2 separate regions of the Homo sapiens genome follow, and region 2 is linked to region 1. The links are contacts of gene promoters, found by promoter capture Hi-C in human tissues and cell types (Jung and others, 2019). All regions are on one chromosome and are shown on one strand. The core of a region is centred on a gene start or on the middle of the fragment in contact, and the rest is flanking DNA. Distances in the headings are between cores, read along the strand shown.

The links. Contacts are between HindIII fragments. The study calls those that stand out against the background at their distance.
Region 2: a fragment that was not itself captured here is called in contact with the fragment with the promoter of CAPN10 in region 1 in 1 of the 25 tissues and cell types used here (spleen).

What each region holds. Positions count from the first base shown.
Region 1 is chr2:240,584,011-240,588,789 of GRCh38, forward strand. It overlaps CAPN10 (calpain 10), which reads left to right and starts at 2,724. Exons shown (of 12, transcript NM_023083.4): 1 at 2,724-3,042. The coding sequence starts at 2,902. It overlaps CAPN10-DT (CAPN10 divergent transcript), which reads right to left and starts at 2,306. Exons shown (of 1, transcript NR_103792.1): 1 at 1-2,306. RefSeq lists enhancers at 471-540, 911-1,280, 2,271-2,450, 2,502-2,796, 2,735-3,561 and a silencer at 2,761-2,990. The HindIII fragment of the contact is 9,208 bases long and covers 2,371-4,779 here.
Region 2 is chr2:239,391,812-239,396,590 of GRCh38, forward strand. All of the region lies in intron 1 of HDAC4 (histone deacetylase 4), which reads right to left. Among named protein-coding and RNA genes, the nearest start is that of HDAC4, 6.8 kb to the right of the region's middle. The HindIII fragment of the contact is 5,599 bases long and covers 1-4,779 here.

The sequences.
Region 1 (4,779 bases), core at 1,474-3,973:
ATATCCCAGGAGCCGGGGGGAATGTCATTCTTCAGGGCTGAGGGAACATCTTTGCACCCTGGGGTAGCAGATGGGACCACAGGGCATGTGGAATGTCTTAGTCTGTTTCACACTGCTATACCTGAGGTTGGGTTTGTTTTATTTATTTATTTATTTATTTAGAGACGGAGTCTCGCTCTGTCGCCCAGGCTGGAGTGCAGTGGTGCGATCTGGGCTCACTGCAAGCTCCGCCTCCCGGGTTCACACCATTCTCCTGCCTCAATCAGCCTCCCGAGTGAGGGGCTGGGACTACAGGTGCCCGCCACCACACCTGGCTAATTTTTTTGTTTCTTTTTTTTTTTCAGTAGAGATGGGGTTTCACCGTGTTAGCCAAGATGGTCTCGATCTGACCTCGTGATCCGCCCGCCTCGGCCTCCCAAAGTGCTGGGATTACAGGCGTGAGCCACTGCGCCCAGCCAAGGTGGGGGAATTTATTTTTTTAAAAAAGCAAAACAGGTTTATTTGGCTCAAAATTCTGGTGGAAATTTCAAGATTGGGCAGCTGCACCTGGTGAGGGCCTCATGCTACTTCAACTCAAGGCAGCAAGTAGAAGGGGAGAGGCATGCACAAAGAGATTACGTGGCCATATGGCGAGAGAGGAAGCAAGAGACAACCGCAGGAAGGCTGACTCTCTAACCAGCTCTCATGGGAACTCACCCCTCCACAAAGGACACTAACCTATCCATGAGGGATCCACCCCTATTACCCAAACTCCTCCTACTAGGCACCACCTCCTAACACTGCCTCATTGAGGCTCAAATTTCAATACCATTTTGGGCAGGGGCAGACCACATGCAAATCACAGCATGGGGTAATAGTGGGGGCAGGTTGACACAGGGCTGCTGCCTACCCAGCACCAGCTGTCTCTTGGCCCCTTCCAGATCCTGGCAATCTGGCTACAGGCATGGGCCCAGCCTTGGACACAGATGTGGCCACAGGAAGCTGTTAGCTCTCCAGATCTGATCAGCCTGGGAGAGCGGCACAACAAAGGCTCCCAAAGGAGAGTCGGGATCCTCAGCTAGCCTCAGCTCTGCTACCCACCCATATGTGCCCAGAACAGGAAAGATACGTGTTTCTTACTCCTCCGGGACTCCTAGGTGAAGCTGAGACCAGGCTCTTCTTGAGTCCTCTCAGCTATGGTGCAACCACCAGCCTAGCAAGGAATCAGAAACATCTTCCGGAAGAGTCAGCACCATAGAGGGTGCTGAATGGGCAATGAAGCATCCCGGAGATGAAACATCTGGGCAGTGAGGCATCCCACAGGTGTTGGGCTATGCAGTCACTCCCTTTCTCAGACCGAGGCAAGTACATAAGCACTCTGGGCCCCTAATCAGGGGCCTGGGGCCAGGTGGGATGAAAACAGCAGTGTCCTGCCACCTGAACAACTGCTACTCACGCAGGCCCCACCTGGCCTCTCAGAGGGAGGAACCTGGGACTCCTGAACCAGATTCAGTTTCTCCTTCAACAGCCGGGACTTTTCGCTCCTGACTGCAGAAAAACAGCTTCAATGTGACCATCCTTGATAGTCCGAGGCTGAGTAAAATGGCCTGAGGAGGCAAAATCTGAAAAGCTCTATTAGGTGGCAAACTGCTGTCACTAGAAGAGTTGAGGCCCCCTTCTCCTCCCCTGCCTGACCGCCTTCATTCCTGGGAATGGAACAGGTTCTTGGGGCAAGGGTGAATCCTCGAGCAGGTCCCAGGATCACTATCCTCACCTCCCCGCGGCACTGAATGGCTATAGCTGTAAATGTGCGTCCACGGGGTCACTGTCCAGCCACCAGGACCAGGTGCCTGGCCATCTGGGGAATCGGAAAACGCTCAGCGGGATGCTCTGGCCACCTCCCCTGCCCCCAGTTAAGATGTAGAGCGTTCAACCTAAAATGCCTAGAAACAAAGCCCAGGCCCGGGAAGGTCGAACGAGTGCGACGCCGCTCCCTCAAGCTCTTCCCTCGGAGCCGTCTCATTTCCCAAAACTCCCAAACACATCACAGAGAGAGGTGTTGAGCCAGGTGGTCACTCCCTTTTCCAGAACCACAGCAAGAAGTTGAGCCTGCTGGGCTCCTAACGAAGGCCCTGGGGCCCGGTGGGATGAAAAGCCCTATTAGGTAGCAAACAGCTGTCACTAGAGGGGTTGAGGCCCCCTTCTCCCCTGCCTGACGACGACGGCGGCAGGAACTCGACCGGCGCCGGACAGCTCGCAACTTGCCTTACCAAGCGTAAATCTCGGTTCCTCCCAACTACCCGCGGCCACGGCCTCCGCAGCAGAGCGCCGGAAGCAGAGACGCGTTTCGGGAGGAAGGTGCATGCTGGGAGCGGCGGCGCATGCTGGGAGCTGTAGTCTGCGACGCAACTCGGCCGAGGTGGCTCCCTGGTCCCTGAAGCTCCCAGAGCCCGCGTGTTCAGGCGGTCCCGACACCCCGGCCCGAGCCTCACCGGCTGGAGGACTGAACGCCTGCCGGCCCTCCGGGTATGAGCGGAGGCCGGGATAGCCCTGGGCTCCGCCGCCCCCGGAAGGAAAAAATACAGTGCGGTCCGCCGCCCGACCACGAAAGAGCGGAGCTCGGGAGCCCCGCCCCCTGGGCCTCCGACGTCCGTGGCGCTTTCCGTCGCGCGAGTGCGATTGGGCCGCCTGTCACGTGACCCGAGACCCCACGCCCGGTTGGCTGCCGCCTGGTTACCAATGGGAGACTAGCGGGCCGGCGTACTGGCCTGGTCCAGCACCTGCGGGGCCCTCGGGCTTGGAGGGCTGGGCCGGGCGGGGAACGGGCGGGGCGGGCCGGAGGCGGCGGCGGCTGACTCGCCTTCTCTCCGGGGCTGCGACCCCGAGGCAACCGGCTGCAGATGGGAGCCCGCGGAGCCGAGGATGCGGGCGGGCCGGGGCGCGACGCCGGCGAGGGAGCTGTTCCGGGACGCCGCCTTCCCCGCCGCGGACTCCTCGCTCTTCTGCGACTTGTCTACGCCGCTGGCCCAGTTCCGCGAGGACATCACGTGGAGGCGGCCCCAGGTGGGGCCGTGTGGGGTGCGGTGGGCGCCGTTTCTGGTTTCTGAGATCTCCGCTCCTCGCAGGGAGCGGGGCGGGGTGGGCGGCCAGGGTAGCTCCGAACGCAGGGTCCGCCGTTGTTCTCCTCAGAAGTGGGCGCCCGGCCCCCTCTTTTCGTACCTCCTTCATACCCCCGCCCAGAACGAGCAGGACTCGGCGCTACCCTAAGGACGCTAAACTAGGTCGTGGCCTCCGCCTGCGAGAGCTCCAATCCAGGAGGCTCAGAGCGCTGCGAGAGGCGTTTTAACAGAGCCCCAAACCCCGCCCCACCTGTTTGCTTTCGCCCTGAAGAGCGTTTGTGTCTGCTCCTCCCGCAGAGAGGGCCGCTCGTGCCCCTCTGAAGTGGCTAGGCCGAGCCCACAAAGCAAAGCGTGATAGAATTTCAGTTTTGGATTTTGTGCACCTGCCTTTCCAGTTGTAACACCTAGAAATGGCACCTCCAAGGGATGCCCTGGCCGAGTGCTGTGTTCATATTTTTAGAAATGGTTTATCTGCTGAATAAGACTGCCCAGGGAGCAACCTTGCCCTAAGTGGATGCGGTCTTAGCGGAGACAACTGATGGCCGCCAGTCTTCGAACAGAGCTGGAACTTCTGGGCTCTCGTGACTGAGATGGCTTTGACAGGCCACCTGGTTTCCTTGGACAACACTGAAGGGCCTGGGAGGAGGCAAGGGTCAGACCATGTAGAGCCTTGTCATTGGAATTTGGGTTTTATTTTGTTAAAAGATTGATTTTAGGTGCAGCTGGAGGCCACTAGAGGGTTTTGGTAGAGGAGTGGTTCTCTTGGATGTGTGTTTTTACAAGCTCACTCTTGCTGCTGGGTGGGAAGTGGGTTGTCGGGGCAAGAATGCAAGGGTCCATTGTAGTGGTCCTGGAGAAAGATGAAGGGGCTCAGATTAGCTTGACGACTGTTAGGATGTGGGTTTGGAGTAGATTGGTTTGAGACGTACCTTGCAGGGGGGATCGAGAGGCCATAGTGACTGATTGAAATAGAGGGTGAGGATAGTGGAGGGATCAACATGCCTTCTGGGTTTCTGGCCTGAACAGGTGGGTGGATGGTGGTCCTGGGACAGAGCCTGGGGGTGACCTAGAGTTGGGCTTTGCTCTCACGTCTTCAGGTGGAGCTGTCCTGGAGGCAGGTGGATCTGTCCTGGAGGCAGGTGGATACGGAGCAGGGATAGGCTAGAGGCATTCTTCTGGGAGGCGGAGCATATTAGATGGTTTACAGTCCACAGCCTGGGAGAGTGTCTCGGGGGAGTATCAGTAAAGAAGAAGGGGGCCTTGGGGCTGAGCCTTGAGGAACCCTAACATTTCTTGGGGTCAGGCAGGTGCCCTGACAGATAGACTTGAGAAGCAGCAGGCAGTGAGGGAGAGGACACCCGGGGAGCATGCGGCCTCACAGAAGCTGAGTGGGGACCACCTCAGGGGCAGCAGATGGCTGTTCTGCTGTTGTGAATGCTGCTGAGTAGTTGGGGAAGAGAGTTGGGACCAAGAGAAGCCCAGTGGGTTTGATAACATAGAGGTGACAGCGACATTGATCGAGGCAGTTTAGGGGCCATGATTGGCTCAGAAGCTAGAGGAGCCTGTGTGGAGAGTGAATGGGAAGCAGGTAGTGGGCATGGCAGCTCTTTCAAGAGCTGTAATGAAGAGAAGCCTGAAGGAGACTATGGTGCTGAGAGATAATGTCTTAAAGAACATGGGG
Region 2 (4,779 bases), core at 1,476-3,975, 1.2 Mb before region 1:
GTGAAACAAGAGAAGAGGCCCTCCGCAGCTCCCACGTGCCTCAGCTCTGGCCTCCGCTTAACCAGAAGAATTCTGAAAACAGAACTTCGTCAGAACGCAGCCCGCGTGTGCTGAAGCTGGCACGCTGACATGGAAAGACACTCTTCTTCAGGGAGGGACCGCGGGAAGCACTGCACATGGTTGGTTGTGAACTCCGAAGCCCAAAAGGTCAACATCCCCACCAGCTTGGGAGGTGAGTTGGATGCTCCCACACCAGGCCCCATCCTGCCCGGGCCACCATGCCGGGCAGGGGTGGGATGGCCCAGCCCGGCTGCTACCCTCGGATGGCAGCGGGCATGCACGTAACGGCTCTGCAGGTCAGCTGCTGCCCCAGCCAGCAACCGAGCTACGCTGGGCTGTGCTGCACACTCAGGGGCAAAGGAAAGCAAGCTGCTTCAGGGCAGGCACTCGAAAGGCGAGAAGACACAGGCACCCCAGTGACATCTCCTTTGATGCATCCTTCTGACCTGGAGAGCCAAGGGGCGGATTCCAACACAGAGCCCTTGAGCTGGCAAACAAGTGTTCTCCAAAGAATGGGGACTGTGACCACCTATGAGGATTTTTTCAGTGCAAAATCTGATGTAAATTTTATAGTAGAGGGGGTTTTAATATGCCAGAACCTCCCAATGGTTTTCTTTATGGCTCACTTTAAAGGTCCAAAAGGTCAGAGGGCCACCCACATCCTGCAAGCAAGGAGGCACAGTTGGCATCACTAATTAAGATACACCCCGCTTGTGTGGACCCACAGGCCATCTTCCCCTCCTTGTCCACAGCCCCCAGAGGTGGAATGGGGGTCAGCCTCCTTAGAACACTCTAACCCCTGAGCTTACGGGGCTCGGACATGAGTCCTGGGGGTGGGTAAGTCCTCAATAGCCAGCTGGGATTAGCCCCAGGCCACAGGGAGGACTGAGGCTCAGGGGCCCTTGGCCACGCTCTGCTGACCTGCTGGGGGCCCACTTTCTGCCACTTGACTTACATGGCACGGTGCCAGCCAGCAAGGCCCCTGCAGATGGGCCAGGCTGGGCTCAGCCTCAGACCCGGAATTCTGGTGTGTAAACCGGTGGCACTGGGGGTGCCAGCTCGGGTCCCCCAGCGGGTCCCCTCCAGCACGGTTTCTACACAGACTCCTGGCAGGCTTCAGTCCTGACAGCTACTCTACAGAATCCTGGACCTAGGCACAGAGGAAGCTCTCGCCAGCACTGCTAGAAGGAAGGAACCCCCTCCCTTCTGGATGCGGCCCGTCTCAGAGCCACAGGACTGGGACCCCCGGCGTGTGAGCCACCTTCTTCACCTTGCCCTTGTTTTGGAAGCTGCCCTTGCTTTTCATGCAGAAGTCCCCACAACAGCACCACCAAGCATGTGCCCCAAGGAGGGCCTAGCCGCGCCATGGACCACCTGGAGGCCTCCTTGGGATGCATCTGAATGGGCCTGCCTCCACAAAGTTAGAACAAGAGAGATCAGGTCCATCACCCAGCTGGAGCCAGGCACCAGTGCACAAAATAGAAAGAACAGAAGCAAACTCTCCATTAAATGCAAGAAGACTACACATACATGAAAACGCAAGGAAGTCCTTTGTGCAGACCACACCTCCACCCCACCCAGGCAGCCTGCCAGTTGGCCCGGCTCATCACTGGCTCACGCACTCTGGCCTCAGAGACCTCAGTCACCAGGCCACCATCTGGCCACAATGCCCTTTTCACAATGCAGCCCCGAAACTCTGGCTCTGGCTAAAAAGGACCACACCCCATTCCCACCCACCCAGCCTCCCCTTCCTCCTCCTCATCTGGGCCTGGCTCCTGCACCACGGCTCTCCCTACCAAGCAAGCCCTCCAGCCACAGCCCTGGTTCTCAGGATGGTGACCCGTGTGCACCTGCCTGTTTAGCTCCTTTTTCTCCTCTGTCCCTACCAACACCAAAGCCTCTTGTGGGCAGAGGCCAGTTTTCCTGATCAAGCCTGGGGTCATGGGGCTGGCCACTGCGTCTGGCACAGAGAATGTGTTCAACTGAGTCTCATCTCATGTAAAACCTAGTACTTGGGCTGGGGTGTAAAATGAGTATTTGCAAAATAATAACTAATCAATTAGAAATATTCAGGGAACATGGCCCCCAAGGACCACCCCCCCTCCACCCCCAACCCCACCACCAGGGAGGCCAGTGGAGATACCACAGAAACTTCTCTTCCTCAGTTTAAAAAAGAACCGCTCCAGCAAATAGCAACACATAAACCAGATGATGGGCCATTCCCAAGGGAAAATGCAATTCCATCACCGCTTGAACAATACTCCCACTTGGAATGCTGGTTCAGACTTTCAGGTCCTAAGAACTGATTTATTGTTTCAAGCTTAAACATCAATCCAGCAAAAGCACTTGACTCACACAGACGGAGTACTTCATAAACAACAGTAAACTCACAAAGCCCAACACTCACATTTTTAAACAGAGCAGACTCCAAAATGTTTATGTACACAAACATATTAATGTATCATATTAAAATTATGACGCTAAATAAGAAGTGATTAAATAATGTCATTAATTCTAATTTAAAACAAGCAGAGAAAAACTTCTTCATAAAAGCACCACTCGCCTCCTCACACGCCGGGGCCCTGGGCGAAGCGGCTGGAGAACAAGCTGCACACACCTGCCTTGGCCTTGGCACAACAGTCGCATTTGCCACTCGACAGCTGTGTTGAAGGCCCTTCTCCCTCCCATTCCTTTCTGCATCACAGAATTCCCTCCACTTGCATTTATGACATCTCCTTAGGAGCATGTAATCTCCAAAATCAGGACCAAGAAGTTCCCAGATGGGGGCAGGGGGTGTCAGGAAACAGGCAATTCCAGAGCACTGGCAAGAACCCCGCAGAGGGGCCAGGCCAGAGGTGGGGCCTCACCCCAGCTCTCCCACCCAAGGCCCGCATTGTGCCATTCACTGGGCTACCTACTCATCCATTCATTCATTCACTCATTCATTTTCTTTCATTCTTCGAGCACCTACACTGCCAAGCACAGGGTACAGAGCAGGCATGAGGCCCTCAGGGCCCCTCAATCCTACAGAGCCCCAGCTAGTAGAAAAGGTGGCATTAAACAACTAAGGTCACAATGAGCTCCTTCCTGAAATTGCACAATGGGATGCTGTTAGAAAGGAGGAAAAAAGCTATTAGGCTAAGTTTAACAGGGGATCAAAGGATGAGAGGATGAGCATGAACTGAGGGGCTGGAGAAGAGGAAGGTAAAGGGAGGCCATTCCAAGGAAGGGGAACAGTGTGTGCAAAGGCCCCGAGGTCAAAGGGGACTTAGAGAGAGCTAGAAAGTAAAGCAGGTGGCAGCTGAAACTCCACAAACACAGCAAGTGCTATCAGATGAGGCTGGTAAAACAGAGGCCAGGATCAGGCAGGCCTTCCAGGGCCCTGAGACCTTAGGATCCTAAGAATACAGGAAAGTCATGCCAGGGTTTCAAGCAAGGGAATGAGAGGTACAAACCTGCTTCTGGTGGAAACCTGGGAGACTGTTTGTAGGATGGGCTGTAGCAGAGCCCGCTCAGACCCCGAGGGTCAGTCCCCACCTTGAAGAGCTTACATGTGAGTTAGAAAAACAAATGCCCCTAAATTCTTCTATTGCAAAGCATATTTATCAACTTGCCAAGGACTTAAAGAGTACTTTTCTTTCCAATGAAGATATCTAAATGTTTTCAAATTACTACTGTAAAAAAGTAATACACGCTTACCAAAAGAATCTCTACAATACCACCATGTATAAAAGAAAAGTGTACCCCGTCTCCTCACCTCTGATGGTTACCTTAGAGACCCATGTACTTAAAACCAGGAGTGGCCCGGGGACTGCTCCAGACCCCGCCTTTCCCTCTTACACTGCACACTTCTGCCTGTCTACACATGGAGGATGCCACAGTGCAGAAATGCCAGCAGGTTTAACAAGTACTCCTTTTATAAATAATGCAGCCCCGACCTCCACACACGTCTGGATATCTACACACTTATCTTCTTTCCTTAGAATAGATTTCAAAATGTAGAACTGTGGGGACAAGGAGAATGGCATTTAAGATTTTGACACTTAAGACTTTTCTAGAGAGCAATTCGGTAATCACTATTTTATGTTTATACATTACATATATAAACTTTTTTGGGGGGGACAGCCCAGGGTCTCGCTGTGTCACTCAGGCTGAAGTGCAGTGGCAAAATCACACCTCACTGCAACCTTGACTTTCCAGGCTCACGTGATTCTCCTGCCACAGCCTCCCAAGTAATGGGGACTACAGGCACACGACGTCATGCCTGATTTTTTTTTTTTTTTTGTAGAGATGAGGGTCTCACTATGTTGCCCAGGCTGGTCTTGAACTCCTGGGCTCAAGTGATCCTCTCACCTTGGCCTCCCAAAGTTCTGGGATTACAGGCATAAGGTACCTCGCCCAGCCCTATTATATTTTATATAATAATACATATGGGTCTCTCCAGAGAGCAAATGATAATAAATAACAGCCAACATTTATATCATGCTTACTACATGCCAGGCCCTATTCAAGGAAATTTCCATACATTAACTTAAACTTTGCAAAAACCTTACAAAATAGAAATTATTATTATGACCAGCAACAGGTATCATCAAACTCGCCAATATGATAGGCATAAAGGGAATCTCCTTCACACTGAATTGATTAGTAATGCTAACCTTTCATCACTGGCACAATGATTCAATGTTCATACGTTCTGCTCATCTTGCAATGGTGATC